Regions from separate parts of the Homo sapiens genome. Here all the other regions are linked to region 3. The links are contacts of gene promoters, found by promoter capture Hi-C in human tissues and cell types (Jung and others, 2019). All regions are on one chromosome and are shown on one strand. Each heading gives the region's core, a stretch centred on a gene start or on the middle of the fragment in contact. The rest is flanking DNA. Distances are from core to core; before and after follow the strand shown. Region 1 overlaps FRYL (FRY like transcription coactivator). Region 2 overlaps FRYL (FRY like transcription coactivator). Region 3 holds the start of OCIAD2 (OCIA domain containing 2).

The links. Contacts are between HindIII fragments. The study calls those that stand out against the background at their distance.
Region 1: a contact is called between a fragment that was not itself captured here and the fragment with the promoter of OCIAD2 in region 3, in 2 of the 25 tissues and cell types used here (hippocampus and lymphoblastoid cells).
Region 2: a fragment that was not itself captured here is called in contact with the fragment with the promoter of OCIAD2 in region 3 in 2 of the 25 tissues and cell types used here (heart left ventricle and lymphoblastoid cells).

What each region holds. Positions count from the first base shown.
Region 1 is chr4:48,723,779-48,728,145 of GRCh38, forward strand. All of the region lies in intron 1 of FRYL (FRY like transcription coactivator), which reads right to left. Among named protein-coding and RNA genes, the nearest start is that of FRYL, 54 kb to the right of the region's middle. The HindIII fragment of the contact is 3,725 bases long and covers 895-4,367 here.
Region 2 is chr4:48,741,384-48,745,851 of GRCh38, forward strand. All of the region lies in intron 1 of FRYL (FRY like transcription coactivator), which reads right to left. Among named protein-coding and RNA genes, the nearest start is that of FRYL, 37 kb to the right of the region's middle. The HindIII fragment of the contact is 6,767 bases long and covers 1-4,468 here.
Region 3 is chr4:48,904,100-48,908,045 of GRCh38, forward strand. It overlaps OCIAD2 (OCIA domain containing 2), which reads right to left and starts at 2,675. Exons shown (of 7, transcript NM_001014446.3): 1 at 2,559-2,675; 2 at 385-512. The coding sequence starts at 450. RefSeq lists a silencer at 2,353-2,612 and an enhancer at 2,903-2,982. The HindIII fragment of the contact is 7,902 bases long and covers 753-3,946 here.

The DNA of each region.
Region 1 (4,367 bases), core at 1,507-4,006, 180 kb before region 3:
AACCAGAATGATCTTTTAAAAATATAGCCAGGCATGGTAGCTCACACCTGTAATCACAATACTTTGGGAGGCCAAGACAGGAGGACTGTTTGAACCCAGGAGTTTGAGACCAGCCCAGGCAATATAGTAAGACCCCAACTCTACAAAAAAAAAAATAAATAAAATAATAATAATAATAATAATAATAATAACAAAAAAAATTAGGTGGGTGTGGTGGCACACACCTGTAATCCCAGCTACTTGGGAGGTTGAGACAGGAGGGCTGCTTGAGCCCAGGAGGTCCAGACGTTAGTAAGCCATGATCCTGCCACTGTAATCCAGCCTGGGAGACAGAGCAAGACCCCATCTCAAAAAATAAATTGAAATTAAAATTAAAATTTAAAAATAAATGGAATATAAATGTATTCACTCCACCAATACTCAAAGTCCTCCACTAGTTTTACATAAAAGACAGGGGAAAAAGTCCATGGCCAAACATCTCTGACTTTTCCTTTCCCCTATTCCAGCCACACTAGTTTTCCTGCTATCCCTCAAACTCAAGTCTATTTCCATGTTGGGCCTGTGTGCTTGCTAACCCCTCTGCCTGGAAAGCTTTTCCCCTGGGCATGGCTTGCTCCCTCCCTTTGTTCAGATCATTGCAAATACTACCCTCCAAAGAGGACTTCCCACATACCCTATCTAAAATAACGGACACCATCACTCTCTAAGCAAACTTAATTTCTCATCATAGAGTTTATCATCCAATATTTGTTTACTGTTTGTCTACCCGACTAAAAAGCAAGCTCCAGGAGTTGGGTGCGGGGGGGCTGTCTTGTGGATATTTACAATCCCCAACATCATCTCCTGGGTCACAGGAACTCAATAAACATTTGTTGATTAAACAAACGGTGCCCCTGATAATAAATGACAAGAATCAAAGAAAAACACCAATATGCATACTTTCAAACAGTTTATTCAATAAAATGCGTATTAACAACTTCATAAATTTCCATCGTGCTGCCTTTAGAGGACTTTAGAGTAGGGTAGAATAATAGAGAAAGGGAGGGAAACTTGTTGCCTTCAGCACATAAATCCAATATATTTGAATATCTTATTTTACATCCATGTTGAGATGGAACCTAATGTCTCCAAAAAATAACAAATTTGAAACTGTTTTTATTCCTGTTAAATACTGGAATCAAACTTTATCCAAACAAGCTTAAAAGGAGAAGCAATATTCAGATGATAACCTAAGAATACACATTTGACTTAGCTCCCTGTTCCATTATCCCTCAAGATGATTAAATCAATATAAAAGAGAAAATTCAAGCATCATCAGAAATTAGAAAGGGGTCTCACCCTTCATCTGAAACTTCTGAATTTTCACAAAGGTATTTTGACATGAGACAAAAGAGAATCAATCTGCCCTTACATCGGCCATATCTGCTGTGCTCCATCCACTCCAAGAGCCTGCCTGCCAGTCTACTCCACTAAGGTGAGGCCCAGAAGAAAATGGCCCACACTTAATTGCTCCCCTCCATCAAATTCTCTGCACTAAATACCAACTGCAATCTTCAACAGACTCTGTCTATCCTCTGAGAGAAAGAGAGAATACAATCTCGTGTCAAGCTCTGATACAGCCTGTGCTATTTATCAACACTAAATAAAGTGTACAACCGTATCCCCTTATCCAGGTTTCATTTTTCAAGGTTTCAGTTAACCTCAGTCGACAATATTAAATGGAAAATTTCAGAAATAAACAATTCATAAGTTTTAAATAGCACATCATTCTCAGTAGCGTGATGAAATGTCACGCTGTCCTGCTCCATCCTGCCCACCCGGGACATGAATTATCCCTTTGTCCAGTGTGTCCACATCCACACTGTCTATGCTACCCACCCGCTAGTCACTTAGGAGCAGTCTCAGTTATCAGATCCACTCTCGCAGTATCACAGTGCTTGTGTTCAAGTAATCTTTATTTTACTTAACAATGGTCCCAAAGCACAAGAGTAGTGATGCTGGCATATTGTTATAATTGTTCTATCTTATTAACTATTGTTGTTAATCTCTTACTGCGCCTTATTTAGGAATTAAACTTTATCAGAGGTATGTATGTATGGGAAAAAAACATAGTATACATAGGATTTGGCACTATCTGAGGTTTCAGGCTTCCACTGGGGTCTTGGAACACATCTACTGAGGATAAGGGGAAACTACTATATAGGAAAAAAAATCACCAATCTTATGACACGAATTGGCAAATACAGAGGACTGGTGAAATTCTCAGAATTTCAGAGATAATGACCTTGAAATTCTTAACAAAGATGTGAAAGGCAAAACTACTTGCTTTTCTAAGATATAAGTTCTTTTTGTGGGGGTAGGTGGTGAGGTGGTCAGGCTTACCAAACCAGCACCTGCAATCAGGGTTAGAGATGACAAGACACTTTCAAGAAAACACGAAGCAAGTAATCAGAAAAATAAAGATACAGAGGCCATTAACAACATTATCCATTTTCCCTTCTCCTTCTGGGCATAATGAAGAATTTTACTTTCCTTTTCCCTGTTGAAGTTAGACACAGTCATGTGACTTCTGTTGGTCAATGAAATGTGAGGAGAAGTGACCTATAAATTTCCACAGATGCGGGCGGGTGCAGTGGCTCATGCCTGTAATCCCAGCACTTTGGGAGGCCGAGGTGGGTGGATCACTTGAGATCAGGAATTTGAGACCAGCCTGGCCAACATGGTGAAACCCTGTCTCTACTAAAAATACAAAAATTAGCCAGGCATGGTGGCGTATGCCTGTAATCCCAGCTACTAGTGAGGCTGAGGCATGAGAATTGCTTGAACCCGGGAAGCAGAGGTTGCAGTGAGCCGAGATCATGCCACAGCACTCCAGTCTGGGCGACAGAGCGAGACTCCATCTCCAAAACAAACAAACAAACAAACAAAAAACTTCCACAGATGCATTTAATTGTTGGGCTCTGAACCTCTCTCTTCTGCTGTCTCAGTAATTGATGACTCATAGTGCCTTTACAGGAAAGACAACTTTCCCTGAAAGGTACAAACTTGATATGAGTGAGAAATAATAATCTTTGTGTTTTAAGCGACTGATAATTGGAGGATTCTTTTCTTATTGCAGCATAAGCTAACCTACCTTGACTAGTATATTAGTTATTTGAAAATTCCAATAAAATTATCAAAATTCAGCAAATCAAGAAAATCTGACAGGGGCAGGTAGTTTAAGAGATGGACAGAAAAACATACAACTATGACATCAATAGTGAGAAATGGATTATAACTACAGAAATAAAGGTTTTTTTAATGGAATGTGCCTTTGGAATCAGTAATCTCATCTCAATTTTTAAAGATTTTTAAATAGCAGGCTACCTCTGCAAGGATGCACTAAAACTTATAATACTGTTTGCCTCCAGAAAGGAATACTGTATAGCAACTTAAAAAAAAATGGGAAGAAGAGACGTCTGGTTTCTGATCTGACCTGAAAGAAGCTTGGAAGTCATCACTCCAAAATAAGTAAAAAGCGAACAAATTGAAAAAACAACAACAACAACTAATCTTAGCTCCTTAAAAGAAATGAGGTCATAAGGCAAACCACTGCCCCACTGCCCCCCAAATTGGAGGGACATACAGAAGGATACAGAGAATCACAACTTACCATAGTAGAAACCCATGAGCAGAAGGTTGAGGGAACCAGTGCAAGGGAAGAAAAACCTGACCTGTAATTGACAAATTGTTGGAGGATCAGTGTAAGAAAGTCTGAGAGTCAAAAACTCCAGGGAACCCAGTCAGAAGGGGCCTATCGCACTTTTTCTGACTTTTACCTCCAGGAGCTTGACCTAAGTTCTCACAGTGAATATCAGAAAAATCCCCCCTACTTCCAAAAGAGAGGAAAAACAACCATTTTGAAATGCACCACAACATTCTGTTTTTAACAAGGCTTGCCCTCAGGAGAAACTATTTAGCCAGAGACTAACTTGCTAACTACCCCTAACTAACTTGGGGGTAGGTTAATACCTAATCCCAGTCAGCCTTAGCCTTCCATGTGGAGGAAAAGAAATACCTAACTCTAGGCAGTTCTAGCCTTCCATGTGGCAGACAGGAAATACCCAACTCTAGCCTACTCTTAACTATACTGTCCCACCTAAGGGAGTACTGAGAAGCACTTGTGAAGCTGATAATCCAGAGGCACAGACTCACTAAAAGACTGAGATCTAATCAGAGGACTATAGAAGACCTCCCCTTCCTCCACACCTTGCCACCACATTATAAAACCCTATATTAAACAGCTCCTTTTACACAGTACATCATGTCCAGCTACAAAGAAAAGATCACAAGGCATACTAAAAGGCAAATAATGTAGTTTGAAAAGA
Region 2 (4,468 bases), core at 1,684-4,183, 160 kb before region 3:
CAAAAAATTAGCCAGGCTTGGTGGTACACGCCTGTAGTCCCAGCTACTCAGGAGGCTGAGGCAGGAGAACTGCTTCAACCCGTGACGTGGAGGTTGCAGTCAGCAGAGATTGCACCACTGCACTCCAGCCTGGGCAGCAGAGAGGGATTCTGTCTGAAAAAAAAGAAAAATTAGCCAGGCATGGTTGGACATGACTGTAGTCCCAGCTACCTGGAAGCAGGAGGATCACCTGAGCCTAGGAGGTGGAGGTTGCAGTGAACCGAAATGGCGCCACTATACTCCATCCCAGGCGACAGAGCAAGACCCTCTCTCAAAATAATAATAATAATAATAATAGTAATAATAAAGACATGGAGGAAACTTAAGTGCATATTACTAAGTGAAAGAAGCCAGCCTGAAAACTGACTGGCTGATTTCAACTCTATGACATTCCAGAAATGGTAAAACTATAGAGAGAATTAAAACATCAGTAGTTGCAGGAGGGATGAGGGATAAACAGGTGGAGCACAGGGAATTTTTAAGGCAATGAAGCTACTTTGTATACTATAATAGTGGATACATGTCATTAGAAGTTTGTCCAAACCCATGGAGTGTACAACACCAAAGAGTGAGCCCTAATGTAAACTATGGACTCTGGGTAACAATGATGTATCAATATAGCTTCATTAATTGTAGCAAATGTACCCCCCTGGAGGGGTATGTTGACAATGGAGGCTATGCATGTGTGGGAGCAGGAAGGAAACAGGAAGTCTCTGTACCCTCCTCTCAATTTTGCTGTGAACCTGAAACTACTCTGAAAAGTTGTCTTTTTTCAATGAGAAAGAATTTTTTTTACTTTATATGTTGTGCACCTTTTAAAGTCTGACGTTAATTTTTAGTAGCATGAAGTTTTACTTAACACAATTTGGAGTCTTCATTTTACTTAACCAATTAGCACATAAAATGCTGTTGACCTTGAAACTGTTCCCTCATTTGGCTTCCAGGACATCACATTGTGTAAGTTTTCCTCCACTGGCCAGTCCTTCTCAATCTTCATTCCTAGTTCTTACTCTCCCAACTTCATCATGTTGGATGCCACAGGACTCAGTCTCTGGACCTCTTTTCTATCTATACTCCAACTTATCCAGTCTCACAGCTCTGAATATCATCTTTATGGTATTTAAAATAGATTGATATTGTCAGTTATTCCCTACTGTAACAGACCAACTCAGGACTGCTATTCATTCTTAGTATTAGTCATGCACTAGCACAATCCAATTCAGGCATTATTCATGCCTGAACAAAATAAAGTGCTCTCAGGTACCATCACTAGCCCCCAAAAAACTCCAATCATTAAAACTACACATAATACCAATTGTTTACAGAAATTTCAATTTGCCAAGAGTGATTTTACTTGTCCCACCCTTTTGGAGGGTAATCTGAGATTTTTTGTTGTTTTTTTGTTTTTTGTTTTTTGAGACAGAGTTTGGCTGGAGTGCAATGGTACAATCTTGGCTCACTGCAACCTCCACTTCCTGGGGTCAAGTGATTCTCCTGCCTCAACCTCCCAAGTAGCTGGGATTACAGGTGTGCGCCACCACGCCTGGATAATTTTTTTTTTTTTTTTTTTTTTTTTACTAGAGACAGAGTTTCATCACGTCGATCAGGCTGGTCTTGAACTCCTGACCTCAAGTGATCCATCTGACTCAGCCTCCCAAAGTGCTGGGATTACAGGTGTGAGCCACCACACTCAGACAATCTGAGATGTTTAAAGGTAGAAAAGTAGAAAGAGAATTGAATTAGGGCAATGCTAATCTATTATGTAATCAAAGGCAGAAAAGTAGAAAGAACACTGAATTTACAAGCCTTTCACTAAATTCTTATCTAGGTGTTACTTTTCCTAGAAAACCACGTCACACCTAAAAATCACAAATCCAGAATCAGAACTATAACAATTACAGGGGTTCAATAAGTTCAAAGAGGCTTAGAGATGACTTAGCTTGTTTTTTCAAGCTTTTTTGTTTAAATATCAAGCTTCCATATAATAATTCAAGAAAGGAAACCTGATCAAGTTGAACCTCTTGTTTAACAGATAGGGAAACTTACAGCCCAGAAATGTTTGCCCATGGATAAAGCTCTCACTGGTAATACCAAGACCAGAAAGTAATTCTCCTGTTCCCTAATTCAATGCTCTTTCTACTTTTCTACCTTTAAACATCTCAGTGAATACTTGTGTGATTAATTTTATGTGTCAACTTGGCTAGTCCATGGTACCCACATGTTTGGTCAAACATTATTCTAGATGTTTCTGTCCAGATATTTTTTATATGAGATTAACACTTAAATCAGTAGACTCTGAGTAAAGCAGATTACTCTCCAAAAGGGTGGGTTTCATCCAATCAGTTGAAGGCCCTGATGGAGAAAGACTGACCTTTTCAGAAGGGGGAATTCTGCTAGCTGACTGAATTACAACTCTTCCCTGGGTCTCCAGCCTACCCCGCAGATTTTTGACTTGTCAAGCCTCCACTATCACTTGGGCCAATTTTTAAAAATTTAACAATTTAACAACTCTCCCTTTCCCTGTCTTCCCACCACCCCCATATACATGTGTACATGTGTGTGCACTGCACACATACACATTTTTGGTTCTGTTTCTCTGCAGAACCCTAACACAACCTATGTGAGCATCTAGATGAATTTCTGTAATTAATAGGTCAGTAAATGTATTTACTAAGAATGTTAAGAAAGCCTGTGACCAAATATATAGAAATAGTACGAATTAGTAGGGGAGGGGGGTGATTGCTAATGGGTAAGAAATTTCTTTTTGGGGGTGATATAAATGGTCTAAAATTAGACATTGGTGATAGTTACACAACTCTGTAAAAATACTAAAATCCACTGGATTGTATACTTTGCAAAGGTGAATTTTATGGTATATGAATTACAGCTTAATAAAGCTATTATATATTGTTGAAGGAGGGGAAGGAGAGAGGAAGAAAAGAAGGAAAGAAAGCCAGTCAGCCTGTGAAACTAACAGGCATTATAAATGACAAGGAAAAAAATGTTAACTACTTCATAAATTAATATTTACTCTTTCAAAGTCACTGAGTTACACAGGGAACCCCAAAGAAATGTTAGAGAATGGAATCAGAGAAAACCAACAAATAGTTGCATATGCCTGATTTTTTTTCTTTTTCTTAAATCAAAGGCAGCAAAGCAGTTAAATAAATCCTGTGACATCTGAGAGATCAACTAAAAACTGCATTAAGGAGAAATGTCTCAGTTAACAGTGACATGTGAAACCAAACTACAGAACTAAAATCTTTCATTTGGGATAACTTTAACTGTTTTAAAAATCCTTCCCATACTTAGTCAAATCACAGGAATCATTTCAAACCACAAAAAGTTTCTATTGTATTTACCATATTTGCGCTATTTGCAAAGATTACAATGTTTATTATGAAATCCTCAATATCTCCCACCCATAATATAGTGTGAACTTAAGTGATAGGCACTCAATATGAAAAACAGACTTTAAAAAAAAGAATACAATATGAATAGTGCTTCTGTGTACAAAGAAGGCGGCAAAGGATAATAGATGTCCCAGTAAATTATGATTACATTGAGAAATTCAGTATAGCTAGAATAAATTGTGCATTTATAGGGATTGGCAAGAAATAAGGTCAAAAAGCTAGGCTGGAATTTGGATAGATAGTCCAAGAGGGCTTTTAATCAGGGGAGCAAAATCATCAGAATTGAGTTTTAGAAAGATATATACAGTGGCTGTTGGTGGGACTGTAAACTAGCTCAACTATTGTGGAAGACAGTGTGGCGACTCCTCAAGGATCTAGAACTAGAAATACCATTTGACCCAGCAATCCCATTACTGGGTATATACCCAAAGGATTATAAATCATGCTGCTATAAAGACACATGCACACGTATGTTTATTGCAGCACTATTCACAATAGCAAAGACGTGGAACCAACCCAAATGTCCATCAATGATAGACTGGATTAAGAAAATGTGGCACATATACACCGTGGAATACTATGCAGCCATAAAAAAGGATGAGTTCATGTCCTTTGTAGGGACATGGATGAACTGGAAACCATCATTCTCAGCAAACTTATCGCAAGGACAAAAAACCAAACACTGCATGTTCTCACTCATAGGTGGGAACTGAACAATGAGAACACTTGGACACAGGGTGGGGAACATCACACACCGGGGCCTGTTGTGGGGTGGGGGGAGTGGGGAAGGATAGCATTAGGAGATATACCTAATGTAAATGACGAGTTAATGGGTGCAGCACACCAACATGGCACATGTATACATATGTAACAAACCTGCACGTTGTGCACATGTACCCTAGAACTTAAATAATAATAATAATAAAAGAAAGATATATACAGTGGCAGATACTAAAGGAAGAAAGACTTAAGAGAGGACAATAATTATCTAGGTGAGAAATTATAAAGGCCTGTCA
Region 3 (3,946 bases), core at 1,425-3,924:
TTGAAATTTAATAAAAATCCTATGATATATATTTTTTCAGATGGCAGGTCCTGCAATTAAAAGTATACCTGACCAGGCATGGTGGCTCACGCCTGTAATCCCAGCACTTTGGCAGGCCTAGATAGGAGGATTAATTGAGGCCAGGTGTTTGAGACCAGCTTGGGCAATATAGTGAGACCTCATGTCTAACCACAAAAAAAATTAGCCAGGCATGTGGGCCTGCACCTGTCATCCCAGTTAAGTGAGAAGCTCAAGTAGGAGGATCACTTAATCCAGCAGTTCGAGACTGCAGTGAGCCATGACTGCACCACTGCACTCCAGTCTGGGTGACAGTGTGAGATCGTGTCTCAATCAATGAATCGATCAATAAATATAAAAGTATACCTGCTTGCTTGGTGGTGGAAAATGGGCATCTTTATCTTGGTTTCCACGAGCAGACGCTGAAGCCATGATGACTTTGTGCTTGCTCTCCTTCCAGTTGTTTATCCTCTGCTTACTCCTTGACCCAGTGTCTAAGGAAGGTAGAAGAGAATCACTATGCCATGACTAAATGTTTGCATCAAGCTTAAAAGCATCCTGAGGATCCACTGGAGTTATTTGGAAAATGTGTTTTTCCTTTTGTCATTAGTCCATCTGCAAACTCAACTTCCAGTGCTCCTCTTCCACCAGCACACATACATGCACTCACTAATGGGGACAGATCAGATTTAGAATAGAGTGGAAATACCACACTGTGCACTGAGTGTCGATTATGTGCCAGGCCAGGGGATATGAAGAAGGATAAGACAAGATCACCGCTGTGAAGGAATTCACAGTCCAAAAGGGGAGATAGACAAGTCAACAGTTACACAACATGAAAAGTATGCATGGGATGCTAAGGAAGAAAAGAAAGCAGGGTCCATTCCATCTAGTCATGTCACAAAGGAACTAGGACTCCTAAGCTTTCAGGAGGATCTGTGGAGGGTAGATGGACTCTGGGGCAGGAGGACCAGGTTGGAAGGTGGTACACTAGTCCAGACAAGGAGTTACAGGGACGTGAACAAAGACCCTGGTGGGAATTTAGCATCTTTGATAGAGATGCTAAATTTGGGTTTGGAAATGTTGGATTTGGGTGCCTGTGGGGGCAAACAGTGGAATTAGCCACTGTTAATATTTGACGATTTGGGTCTAGAGTTCCAGAACAGGGGTAGGCTAGAGAGATGAAGTTGGGAGCTGCCATCATAGAGATGAGAGTTAAAGCAGGGAACTTTAATAAATGTGTCTAAAAACAGTACTGGAGAATATGAACACTGAGCCCAAGGGAATATCGAAAAGAGAAGAAAGATTAAAAAAAAAAAAGCAGGCCAAGGAAATGACTGAGAAGGAATAGCTGATACAGAGGGGAGGGAATTTCTGAAGGAGGGAGTGAATCATCAACACCATCACATGGCTTAGAAAAGTGGACCCTGGATTTGGCAATGATGGACATAATCCAGGTGGACTTTGAGCCTCCTCCTGCCCCCAGTGGCCACTGCATTCTGCAGCCCTGAACTCTACCTCTACCTCTGCTTTTCTTCTGCAAAATGAACCTCTTATATACAATTCTGTTTCCTACATCAGTTACTAAACTTTGAGGCATTTGAGCCAAGGGGACCCGTACTCGCACCAAGTTTCATCACAGGTGTCTAATGTGATTACAGGGGCAGCACGGTGCCCTGCACGGGAAAGTACTGGGGTCAGAGAGACCAGAGTTCAAATCGTGACTCTTTACCCCTGCGATCCCTTTGGTGCAAATGACTTAATCCGTCTCTGCCTCAGCTTTCTCCACTGTTAATTGGGCATAATGGACACAACAATGGTGAGGGGCTCTTGCAGGAATGAAGACTAGGATGAGGATGAGGATGAGGGATACGTCCATAAAGCCCCTGCACACCTTCCATTTCCTGAGCACTCCCAGGAAGTCTTTGCTGACCACGCCAAATTAGATTATCTTTGCTTAGCCATTAGGCCGCTGCCCTATATTGGGAGGCAAATATACCTCTCAGCTTCGGTGGCCAGGTCCCCTGGCACCCACTTAGTCCTCAGTCTGCACCTAAAAGCAAGCCTTCCGAGGGTCTTGCCTTGCAGGTGTAGCTCCCACCCCCCACGCTGGGGTGGTCCGGGGACCCTCTGTTTCCTCAGTGGTGGGGAAGGGACCCGTGGGTTCGTGGGTGCTGACCGACGAATGTGCGGAGGAGGGCGCGCCCCAGCATGGGGGGCGGGGGTGCTTCTTAGGATGGCTTGGAGGGGGGCGCCTGCAGGGCTGGACGGCGGACGGGGGACACTGCACTTTCTGATGCGGTCGGGGAAGCCGGGAGTCAGCCTACTGGAGTCCGCTGCCATCCCTGGCCAGAAGCAGCCAGCGCCACCCCAAGCTCCCCAGCCCCTCGCCCGTGCCGGGGCCGCCGGGGTCCGAGTTAGGGGAGAGTGGGGGGCGGCCACCGCTGCACCGCGCGGCCTTCGAAGGACTGCCCTGCGGCGCCGCGTTCCCCCGAGGCCACCCCCTCCCGCCGTCAACACTCCCCGGGGCGGGGGCTCACCTGTGTGGTCTGGGTCGCCTCCGAGGCCGAGTCCCTCGTTGCCAAGCCCAGCAGGCCTCGCTCCCCCGTGACTGCACCGCCGGCCCGCTCCAGCTTCCCGAGTACCCCACCTGTCTCCCCGGCTTCCTTCCGGCCCTTTGTGTTTTCTTCTCTTGCTCCGCCCCCTCGCCTGCCCGCTAAGCACTTAAGCTGGTGAAGTCACCCTACTGCCACCTGGCAGTCACTTTCGCTGTTGGTGGCAACCCAGGCTGGAACCCAGCTCTTGCCGGAACCCCTGCCCCATCCTTGAGGCTTGTCCCGACACCGAGTAGGTTCTAGTTCCTTTGTGCCTTCCAAATGACTCCCTTCCTCCAGCAATCACAGCCGCAACAGCCATGTATTGCGCCCCCGCCCTAGGCCAGGCGTGGGCATCACCTTTGCACTCCTTTCTGCAGCCGTGTGTGGTGCCCACTGTGACCTGCACTTCACAGACGGGTCATCTGAGTTGTGCAGGCCACTAAGGGAGCCTGGAGTCAACCCCAGGCCTGCTTGGCTCCCAGGCCTTCTCTTTCCATTGCTCTTTGTCGGTCCCCTGCTGCCTCCTGTCCCTCCCCAACTCTGACTTGTGGAGGGAAGCCTTTGACATGTGGGGGTACCTTTAATACCGATATCACTTGTTACCGGAGAGGGGTCCCGATCCAGACCCCAAGCGAGGGTTCTTGGACTTCTCGCAAGAAAGAATTCGGGGTGAGTCCGTAGAGTGAGAGCAAGTTTATTAAGGAAGTATAGAAAACAGGCCGGGTGCGGTGGCTCACGCCCATAATCCCAACACTTTGGGAGGCAAAGGCAGGCAGATCACTTGAGCTCAGGAGTTCAGACCAGCCTGGCCAACATGGTGAAACACTCTCTCTACTAAAAATACGAAAAGTTAGCCAGGCATGGTGCTCTATGCCTGTAATCCCAGCTACTCGGGAGGCTGAGGCAGGAGAATCGCTTGAACTCCGGAGGCAGAGGTTGCAGTGAGCCGAGATTGCGCCACTGCACTCCAGCTTGGGCGACAGAGCCAGACTCTGTCTCAAAAAAAAAAAAAACAAAAAAAAAACAAAAAACAAGAAGAACAACAACAAAAAAGAATGGCTACTCCACTGGCAGAGCAGCTGTGTGGGCTGCTTAGCTAATTATACTGGTAGTTATTTCTTGATTCTATGCTAAACAAGGGGTGGATTATTCATGAATTTTCCAGGAAAAGGGTGGGCAATTCCCGGAACTGAGGGTTCCTTCACTTTTTAGACCATATAGGGTAACTTTCTGACGTTGCCATGGCACTTGTAAACTGTCATGGCCCTGGTGGGAGGGTCTTTTATCAGGCTAATGCATTAAAATTAGCATTTAATGAGTAATGAGGACGA